Regions from separate parts of the Homo sapiens genome. Here region 2 is linked to region 1. Evidence: promoter capture Hi-C in human tissues and cell types (Jung and others, 2019). All regions are on one chromosome and are shown on one strand. Each heading gives the region's core, a stretch centred on a gene start or on the middle of the fragment in contact. The rest is flanking DNA. Distances are from core to core; before and after follow the strand shown.

What was found. The method cuts DNA at HindIII sites, captures the fragments that hold promoters and counts their contacts. A contact is called where the count stands out against the background at its distance.
Region 2: a contact is called between a fragment that was not itself captured here and the fragment with the promoter of BANP in region 1, in 1 of the 25 tissues and cell types used here (lymphoblastoid cells).

The regions. Positions count from the first base shown.
Region 1 is chr16:87,949,103-87,954,382 of GRCh38, reverse strand. It overlaps BANP (BTG3 associated nuclear protein), which reads right to left and starts at 2,949. Exons shown (of 14, transcript NM_001386991.1): 1 at 2,868-2,949. RefSeq lists silencers at 2,454-2,553, 2,574-2,633, 2,664-2,783, 2,794-3,093 and enhancers at 2,382-3,024, 3,284-3,593. The HindIII fragment of the contact is 14,887 bases long and covers 1-5,280 here.
Region 2 is chr16:88,315,596-88,320,875 of GRCh38, reverse strand. It overlaps a transcript of ZNF469 not described here. Among named protein-coding and RNA genes, the nearest start is that of ZNF469, 65 kb to the left of the region's middle. RefSeq lists an enhancer at 4,799-5,093. The HindIII fragment of the contact is 9,018 bases long and covers 1-5,280 here.

The sequences.
Region 1 (5,280 bases), core at 1,700-4,199:
ATTAGTGGAAACAAGAAATCAGAACAAAGGAGAGCTGGGAAGAATCCTTATTAGTTTCCTTAGAGTCATGGAGATGAGGCACTTGTGTAACAATAAGCTACTATGAAAAAGAAACAAGACAAATACATGCTTGGACATTAAAAATTTGATTGTGAACACATATTAAAGCCCTCTCCCAGAATGAGAATAAACGAGACACAGAAGGAAGGATAAAGACGCAACTCCAGGGCTCCACCTAGAACGTCCATCACAAACAGGAACTCCTAAGACAGAAGAGCAGAGCTGGAGAGGAAGAACTTCTCAGACAGAACAAGGGAACTTCCCAGAGCTGAAGGACAAAGCACCAGAGTCAGAGTCCCCGGCGTAGGAATCCACACACCTCAGCACACACAAGGGTAAAACATCATTAACACCAAAGAGAAGATCCAAGAGCGTTCAGGGAGGGAGAGGGGTCTCCACAAGGAGGAAGAGCACTTGCCAGAGGTTCCTGTGGAAACGAACAGAGCCAAGATGAAAACATTCCTGAACATACCCAGCTACAGAAGAAAGGAAAATATCAGGCTGGCTCGTGTGCAAGCTAACCCATCCAGATGAGAAGGACAGGGGCTGAAGGAGAAAGGGGACCTGACACTATCCTTGAGAATTTAAAACAATGTAAGGAGTCGATGGGAACAGAAAGTGCCAAGAGAAAAGCCATGACTAACAGAAAAATCCACGCTGTACAGGAAGGGAAACACTCAATTTGTCCGTGAAGAGAACAGTATTTGCATAGGCCTAACACAGACAGTCCAGGGGATAGAAGAGTTGGGATATGACAGAAGGGCTCCATCACCCCATCGTAATAGAAAGACAAGGCTGTGTAATACAAAATATCAGCTTAGAGCTAGGTGCAGTCACTCACACCTGTATTAGCGGCTACTAAGGAGGCTGAGGATCACTTGAGCTCAGGAGTTCGAGTACGGCCTGGGCAACATCAGGGGATCCTATCTCAAGAAAAAAATAAAAAGGATCAGCTTACTCAGAGCTGTGGAGAATGACCTAAAGAAACCACTCAAGATGTAAACCTCTTTGAAGAACGGGGCTGAGAGGTGGGGCAGGGGACCATTGCTTTTCATTGTAAGTCTTTCATTGACGTTCCTATTGTATACATTATATTGATTAAAATACTAAATATATGGGCTTTTTTTTTTAAGAACATAGGCTTCAGACAGACTGAATTCGAACCCTGGCTCTGTAAATCTGAGCAAGTCCCTTAGTGTCTGCGGGCCTAGTCACCTCATCTATAAAGTGGACGCAGCCTCTGCCTCCTGGGTCATGATGAAGCACCCGAGATGTTGAGCTGCCCCCACGCAGCGTGGAATCACAAATGGAAGCTCTTTTTTAAAAAGATTAAAGCCCCAGGCTGGACAACAAGGCGAAACCCCCTCTCTACGAAAAATACAAAAATTAGCCGGGGTGGTGGCGTCTGTGGTCCGAGCTACTCAGGAGGCTGCGGTGGGAGGATCACTTGAGCCAGGGAGGCCGAGGCTGCAGTGAGCCAAGATCACGATACTGCATTCCAGTCTCGGGGACCGAGTGAAACCCTATCTCCAAAAAAATAAAAATATTAACGCCAATGATGACAGAATCCAACATCGCAAGAATATATTCTTATTTTAATCGCCAGACACGGGAAGTGGACCCACATACAGAATTTTACCGCGTTTTGGTGTTTTCTTCTAGCACTGGATATCTGCGAGCTGCGTGTTAAATGACCAGATCCAGTTTTTATTTGACGTTTCCTGAGCTTACTCAGAACCACTCACTACTCCAAGTTATTTTTCTGTCCCCTAAGAACTTCCAGCTAAAAGTGAACCCTACAACTGCCTCCTCTTATCAATTATTTACTGTAGTGCGAGTTCCAGCATCGCCATCAGGCCCTGGAGTACATTCCTGGGCAGAACAGGCAACTCCAAACAGGGCAATTACCTGTTCCACATCAACAACTGTGTGACCCGGGCCCTCCCCGGTCAGGGTGCAAGCTCGCTACCCTTCAAAGCCCACACTCGCTCCACTTGCTCACAGTTCTTCAGGGATGATGTATTTCTCCAATAGCAAGACAACCCCTACCATCTCATCAGTGAAAAACATCAGTCCTCTATCAAGGCAATCTCTCCAATTTGCTCACACAGTGTGGATGGAATGTCATCTACTTTCTGCATCCTAGGGGGGAAAAAGAAAACGGCCACCTTCCTTAAGGACTAGATCACAGAAATCGCACAAACGTGCTGGGGAGGGGGCACCCCGAGGTCCTCGTTCATCGGGGCCCCTCGGGGGACGGGCTGGGGTCGTCGCCGAGGTCTGCGGTCCCCGAGAGCGCCCCTTGCGTGTGCAAGTCCTGGGCTATGGGGCTCCGGTCCACAGCCACGGAGGAGGCACAAAAACGATGCCTGTCGCTCCCGCCTGGCTGGCAGGAGCGACCCCCTTGGGAGACTTCGGGCCCCAGAGGAGCCCGGGCGCGGTTCTAGGCCTTTCCAGTCTCCCCGCCGTGGCTCCGGGTCCTTCCCGCGGGGCGAGGCCCGGGACAGAGGTCGGGAGCGCGAGGCCCCCGGGCCGGGCTGCGGCAGCCGCGGCTCAACGGACGCCGGGCGCGGTGGGGCCGGGGGTGCGGAAGCGAGGAAGCGGGAGCCCCTCTTCCGGGGCGCGGCCGGGGACGGGGAGCGGGGCCCGGGGGGCGATCGCCCGGCCCGGGCGGTTGGCGGCGGCGGGGCTGCGGCGCGGGCGGCCCGGCGGGCGGGAGGAGGAGGGAGGAGGGAGATCTCGCTCTCGCTCTCGCCCCGCGGGAAGGGGGAGGCGGAGGCGCGACCGGCTGCGGGAGCTGCAATTACCGTGTGGGCTGCGGAATTCTCGTGGTGTTTGTCGGGGAGATGCGATAATGGCGTCCGTCCTCGCGAGAGAAGCCGCCGCTCTGCGCAGGCGCCGCGAGCCCCTCCCCGCGACGCTCGGCCCCCGCCCTCCGCGCAGGCTCACTGGGCGCGCGGGCCCGGGGGCGGGGCACCCCTGTGGCAGTGAGGCCAGCTGCGCGCGCTTTTCCCGCTCGGCCTCCTGGTGAGCATGCGCAGGCGGCCTTCTTCCGCGACGGTACCGGCTTCCCAGGGCTTTTTTCCCCCCGTTTTTCGCCCACGCCCATGGCCTGCGTGAGAACAATCACCTCAGTGGACGGTCTGAGGAATTTGCATCTTCTTTGAGACGGAATGAATACGCATTAGCTCCCTCAACTACTACACCTCCCAGGGTGCCCTGCGCAAGCTGGGAGCCATGCATTCGGGGACTCGTAGTCCCTGCGTCTGGGCCATGCCTGCCGGGACTTGTAGTCTCTCCGGACTCCGGTGGCCCGTCCTGTCCCCGCACCAAGGGTTGCTGGGACTTGTAGTTACGATGTCTCAGGTGGGCTGTGCGCCCCCAGCGGGTCCTACCTGCTGCTGCGGCGGGTCCTGCCCTGAGGTTCCGGAGCGCTTGGTGGCGTTTTCCCTGACATAAGTGGTCAGGGGTCCCCAGTGTCTATCCAGAGGGGCCTGAGTGCACGCGCGCGGGACTTAGCACACGCGGCAGTGATTATGGTCTTAGATAAGTCCTATAGGTAACACATAATATAAATAAGTGATGGCGGCCGGGCACGGTGGATCACGCCTGTAATCTCAGCCCTGTGGGAGGCCAAGGCGGGCGGAACACCTGAGGTAAAGGGTTCGCGACCAGCCTGGCCAACATGGCGAAACCCTGTCTCTACTAAAAATACAAAATTATGCCGGGCGTGGTGGCGGGCGCCTTGTAATCCCAACTACTCGGGAGGCTGAGGCAGGAGAATCGCTTGAGCCCGCGAGTCAGAGGTTGCAGTGAGCCGAGATCGCGCCACTGCACTCCAGCCTGGCGACAGAGCGAGACTCTGTCTCAAAAAAAAAAAAAGTGATGACGTGAATGTGCACACGTAGAATAAATGTGCAAATGTGCGTTTGTGGGTAATCACAGGAAAAAATTCCCAAACCATAGCGCAGTTCCCAGAAATGTCATTCCTGGTTATCTCCCTCTGCTAATCTAGGATTACCTTGCCTTTCATTTTCTTCTTTATACTCGCCTCTGTTTCCTCAATTATTTGCAATGAGCAAGAATGCCTTTGAGCTCCCAAACACAGGGCGAGGCAGCTATTTTCACTGGGAAAAAGAAAATGCTGGCCGGGCGCGGCGGCTCACGCCTGTAATCCCAGCACTTTGGGAGGCCGAGGCGGGTGGATCACGAGGTCAGGAGATCGAGACCATCCTGGCTAACACGGTGAAACCCCGTCTCTACTAAAAATACAAAAAATTAGCCCGGCGCGGTGGCAGGCGCCTGTAGTCCCAGCTACTCGGGAGGCTGAGGCGGGAGAATGGCGTGAACCCGGGAGGCGGAGCTTGCAGTGAGCCGAGATGGCGCCACTGGACTCCAGCCTGGGCAGCAGAACGAGACTCCGTCTCAAGAAAAAAAAAAAAAAAAAGAAAGAAAGAAAAACAAAATGCTTTACCTTGAATTTCCTGCCCAACTCCCTTTTGCCAATAATAAAAACAGGATTCAGCGCAGTCATGGGCTATGCGACCTTGGGCAACCTTACCGAGTTAAAGTCTCCTCCAGAATTAGGCTTGGAGGTTCCACTGAGGCTGGTGGCTGGGTTACTTCGTGGCAAAAGTGCCTTACAAACACTCCAAGGAGGAGCCTTGGCAAAATGGCAGCGCTGGGACAGGTGTTGATCTGAAGATGGGACTTGTCCTTTTTCAACATGAAGATCAGCTCCAAAGAGATTAGAAAAATTGTCCAGCGAGGCCACAGGGCTGGAGAGAGGCACAAGCTGAGTTTGCAGTCCAGAGCGCCTTGCTTAGAGTGTGGAGTCCACTCACATGGAGGGAAAGGGTGCGTGCGATAGCTGACACAGAATATTCCCTCCGGCAGTGGGGACAAAACATGTTCTAGGGACGCACGCCTTTTGTCTCCACCTCCACCTCAATCACGGCTGCATTCAAATATTAATACTTGCCCATGTAAGAATTCTTAGCATCCACGCCGGAATATCTGGCTTGAAAACACAAACCTAGGGTGATGTCGTTCCTGTTGTTTCAAAACATTCCCAAGTCCGTGTCTGGAGCTGCACTTCCCCTATCCCCAGGCCTTGTGCAATGCTGGGCTCGGCGTCATGAACAGGTGTGAGTGGACAAGAGGAGGAACTTGTGGGCAAAGGTGAATCCATCTGTGACCATCCAACAAGCTACAGTGAGG
Region 2 (5,280 bases), core at 1,094-3,593, 370 kb before region 1:
TGTGGACTCGTGTTGGGCGTGTGCTGGGTGGGTTCGGCATTGACTGGCTGGTTAACCACTGGGGGTTGTTTTGTTGTTTTTCTAAAGACCAGCAATGAGACTACATGGACATAAGTGCAGGAGGCTGTTGCGGGTCTCCAGCTGACGTGTTCAAGTTCAAGACCAACATACCTGTCAATAATCTCATGGTCAGGCTGGGCATGGTGGCTCACACCTGTAATCCCAGCACTTTGTGAGGCAAAGGTGGGCAGATCACTTGAGGTCAGGAGTTCAAGTCCAGCCTGGCCAACGTAGTAAAACCCAGTCTCTACTAAAAATACAAAAACTAGCCAGATATGGTGGTGGGCGCCTGTAATCCGGGCTACTCTGGAGGCTGAGGCAGAAGAATTGCTTGAACCTGTGAGGCAGAGGTTGCAGTGAGCTCACATCATGCCATTGCACTCCAGCCTGGGCGACAGAGCAAGATTCTGTCTCCGAGAAAAAAGAAAAAAGAATAAAGAATCTCGTGGTCAGCCTTTAAGAAATGCTGATGAAGACGCAAGGCCTCACTGTTAACAATAATTATTACCATTAGAGTAAACGCAGGCTTCCCATCATGAGGGCAGTGTAATCAGCAGGAACATTCTGAAGATGACATTTAAAACCCCGAGTCTCCCTAGGATTATATAAATTGGGTGGAATTATCACTTAGTAAACACGTGCAAGGCACTCAGCCTGTTTAACTTCTGCCACGGCAAGCAGCTTCCCCCGTGCTCTGTAAATGTCCCACCTGCTTTTGAATGGCTGCATAATGCTCCATGAGTGGAGGCCTGGCCATGCTTTGAATTATCCCCCGCTGTTGGACATTTGGGGGGTGCCTGTTATCATGGCCTGTGTGGCGAGGAGTCAGGCTTCAGGCCGGGGAGATGCCAGATGGGAGGAAACCCTCACTGACCCCACATGAGGGTCAGGAGCCCACCATTCTGGCTTTGGAGACTGGAGAAAACCTTTCCTTGGAAGATAGGGGCCTGAGGCCCAGCTCCTCACCCAGCAGCTTGGTCTCCACCAGAGTCAGGGTCCCACCTGTAGGGCAGGGGAGTCCTCTAGCTGCGAAGCTGGGCTGCAGGGAGGCCTGGGGGCCGGCTCCTGACCACTCAGCGTGTCCTGTTATTCTCCCTGCAGCATCCACAAACCCAAGGCGTCGAGTTTGCACGACCCACAGACGGGGCTTCCTAGGGAGGGCTGGAAATGGTGGATGGGGAGGAGAAGGGTGGCAGGGAGCCAAGGGGGCTACCTGAGGCCCTAGGAGGGCAGCCTGGGGAGTGGCCCCGCTGCTTCCCCTCTGAGAGGCGCTGCACATGGAAAAGGGATCATTGGCAGGACCCGGGCGCATCAGCAGGGCCTGTGCTCACTCTGTTCAGGAGGGCCCCCACCTTCCGAGGCCTCGGACTGCCTCCTCCTCCCTGGGGGAGCAGCCCCCTCCTCCCGGGGCCCAATCCTTGCACCTCCTGTGTGGCTCCGCCCAAGAAAGTCTCCTGGCCCTGCAGACGAGGAGCCCCCTTCGGCTCAGTCAGGGGCCTGAGTGCATTTGTTTAGGCGACACTGGTGAGGAAGAACCTCAGAAAGGCAGGTGTCCAGGTCTCGGCCACCTGCAAGGCCCCCTCGGAGGTGAGGCCAAGGGGGACAGTGTGGGCAGCCAGACACCCAGACCCTCTTCCATCTGTCTGTGAGGAGCCCGAACCCCAAATCCAGAATCCGCAGGACAGTGGCCGGTCATGGGAAGGCATGCATCGGAAGCCTGAGGCAGAGTCCCATCCTGCCCCAGCCTGGTGGCCAAGGCCCTCTTGACCCCAGCTGGCAATACAAAATGACCTGCTAGGAAAGCCCTGGGGTGCCCCGTCTGGTCCTGACCCCCAGGTAATGAGACTTTTGGGCTCCCAAACAAAAGCAAGTTTATCTCTGGGTGTCATACAGCTGACATCTGAAGATGCTGCTGCCCTGGTGAGGACGGTCACCACGTGAGGGCCAAGCTGTTTGCATGATGGCCGTCTGGACGCTGGGGCTTCTCCCCCTTGCACGCGCTGTTCGGGATTTGGCAGTGGTCCTTCTGCACAGACTCCCTCCCTCGCATGCTTTCCAAGGGAGCATCCCCTCCTCCGAGCTCCAAGATCTCAGACTCCTCCCTTGGCAGAGCAGCCAGCCGTGGCTGAGCTCTGTCCTCTCCCCACGGCACAGGCCAGGGAGGGAGGCAGCCCAGGTGTGGGACACGCCAGGAGTTCTTACTTCATGAGCAACAGAACCCAGAAAATGGTCCCCTTCTTGATCCCCCACCCCACTCCTGCCCTTGGCAGGCAGGGGCCACCGCGTCTCCCTGACTTGCTAAAGGGCTGGGGGGAGAATTGCCTGATCCTGAGATGCAGCTGGGGCAGAGGACACCGCCAGCTCCTCCCCTGATCCTGAGATGCAGCTGGGGCAGAGGACACCGCTGGCTCTTCCCCGCTTACCGAATGGGCACAGAGCATGGAGAGGAGGAAGGGGGGGCAGCGTCTCCAGGAGGAGGCTGGGCTGGAGGGGGCCAGGCTAAAAAGGGCAGCCCCTGCCGAATGTAACAGACCCGGGCCCACTGGGGGCTTTGCAGTTGGTATACCCACAGCCACAGCCGCAGCTCCATGGAACGCGCCCTGGAGAACCAGCGGCCTCCCTCCAGCCCAGGCTGGGCCCGAAGATCTGGGAGAGAAGGGCTGAGAGGGTGGAGCTGCCACCGGCTGTCCAAACCTGAGAGGCCCAAGCCACGGGCAGGGATCGCAGGTCCCTCTCCTCATGGGGACAGTGGCAGATTCTGTGGCAATAAAAGTAACTTGTCATTAAAGGACAGCAGAGGACAGGGCTGGGGCCAGGAGGAGGAAGCAGGAGGAAAGGCCATGCTCTGAGTGCCAAGGCACGGGGACCTCACCCCACCATCACCCTCAAGACCTAGGTTCACCCCTGTCCCAGGGAGAAAGATGACACCGAGCTCTGAGACAGGCCCGGTTCAGCGGCGCAGAGAGCAGGAGGAAGTATGGTGAATCCTTAAACAGAACCAGATGGGATTTGGGAGATAAAGAGGGAATTTCTGGAAGGTTCCTGTAAGTTCCTGGGGACTCAAGTCACGGTCAAGGGAAAGGCGTCTGGGAAGCTGCACATGGACTTCCTGTGGTTGAGAGGACAGTTGTGGCTGGAAGCCAGAGTGAGGAAAGAGAAGGCCTCTGCACCGGCCAGAGAGCTGTGCAGGGCGGCTGCCGGCGGGCACTGCCCCTCAACCCCAACACCCAAGCCTCAGCACGATGGAGACTACATCTGCACCAGGTCGGGAGAATGCCAGGAGAGACCCCTCCCAGGGAAGGGTCTCCTGGACCACAGGCCCGTGGCCCTACCTCTGTTTTCAGAGGATGCGAAACTCTTCCAACCTTCACCAGCCAGGTTCCGAGGCTCCACCCTGCCCCTGGCCAGCGTGCAAAGGTGAAAATGCACAGGGTCCCCCTAGGACCACGTTTCACCCGCAGAAGAATGGAACAGGTGAGGTGCTGTGAGCATCTGCCCTGGGGAGAAGGCAGAAGGAGGCTCCACGGAGAAGAGGGTGTCTGAAGTAGGCTTTGGCATGTGAGTCGGTGTTCATCACGCTGGAGAGGCAGTTGGGAACTGCTTCGGCTCCCCACCCTGCCTGACAGCTGAGGGCCAGGCCAGCATGTGGGGAAAGGGCTTCAGCCCTGAGATCAGTTGGATTCCATCAAACTGGGGTGGGGGCTGCCCATGTGGCGCTCTCCTCAAGCCTCTGGCCGGCCGGCCCCTCTCTCTGCCAGAGCCCCACCATCTACAGTTTATTATCTGGGTGGAGCATTGCCCCTTCCAGCTGGGTTGGGAGGGAGAATGCCGAGGTCAGGTGTTCTGGGTTTAGAGCTGGAGAGCGCGTGGGATCTGGAGTTTTCTGTGGGGGTGCATCCTTCTCAAGGAGGACCCCAGCTTCGATAGGTTCCCAGCATGCTGGGCAATGCGGCACTGAGACAGCACCCAGGCTGGGTGCAGTGGCTCACGCCTGTAATCCCAGCACTTTGGGAGGCTGAGGCGGGTGGATCACTTGAGGTCAGGAGTTTGAAACCAGCCTGGCCAACGTGGTGAAACCCTGTCTGTACTAAAAACACAAAAATTAGCTGGGCGTGGTGGCGGGCGCCTGTAATCCCAGCCACTCGGGAGGCTGAGGCAGGAGAATCGCTTGAACCCCAGAGGTGGAGGTTGCAGTGAGCCAAGATCGTGTCACTGCACTCCAGCCTGAGCGACAGAACGAGACTCTGTCTCAAAAAAAAAAAAAAAAAAAGACAGCACCTATACTCAGTGCTCACCAGCCAAGCTGACGCACACTGGCTGAGCAGCAGGGAGCCCAGGCCCACCGTCGGGGTGTCTGCATGTCAGATCACATCACCCTCATGAAAACCCCGGAAGGAGTGTTACTCCCAGGGCAGAGAAGTGGGAAGAGCCGTGCCAAGGTGAGCTGGATGCAAGGCTGGCGTCTGGCCCCACGAGCGTGGTGCACCATCCCATCCTAAAGGTGGCAGATGCTGGCGGGCAGACCAGGGCTGGCAGCTGCGATCACACTCGCCCAAGGTATAAAAGGTACGTCCAGATTCCTGGACCCAGCCCTGCGGGTTCTGACTTAGGACTGTTCAAAACGTATGAAAACTGCCCCGGAGATTCCGGTGAGGAGGACGGACCTGGGGGAAGCTGCTCCTGCCTTTCAGACTGGCGAGTAGTGAGGGGCGGCCGGCCCTGCTCTCTGCCCACCCGGGGCTGTGGTGGCAGCATGTGCCCTGGTGACGCGTGGTCCAGGTGCCGCCCTACAGAGCTGCAGGTGCATGGCCGTGATCACAGCCTTTCCTCAGTGGTGCAGGCGCCGGGGGTGGGGTCAGGGCCTTGTGCACTTCCAGGTTTCCTCTGGAACGTCCGGAGCAGGCAGCCTGGGCGGGCGAGGCCCTGTGTGTGACTCAGCAGGAGGGGGAGGGCCTGGAGGACCAGCTGCTCTTCCTGCCGCTGCTCCGTGTCTCCCACCCCCTTGGCCTCCAAGGACCCCAGCCCAGGCCTGCTCTTGTCTTGGAAACCAACCCAGGCCAGGAGGTCGAGGGCTGTCCTTTGAACCCTGGGGGCTTTAGAAGCTGATCGGCTGAGTGAGGGTCCTCCCTCCCCCACCTTCTGCACAGGCAGACGCACGGATGTGCACTTCCCCAGCCCTGGACTAGGATGGCCACCCTCCTTCTGGGGTCACAGGGAGGC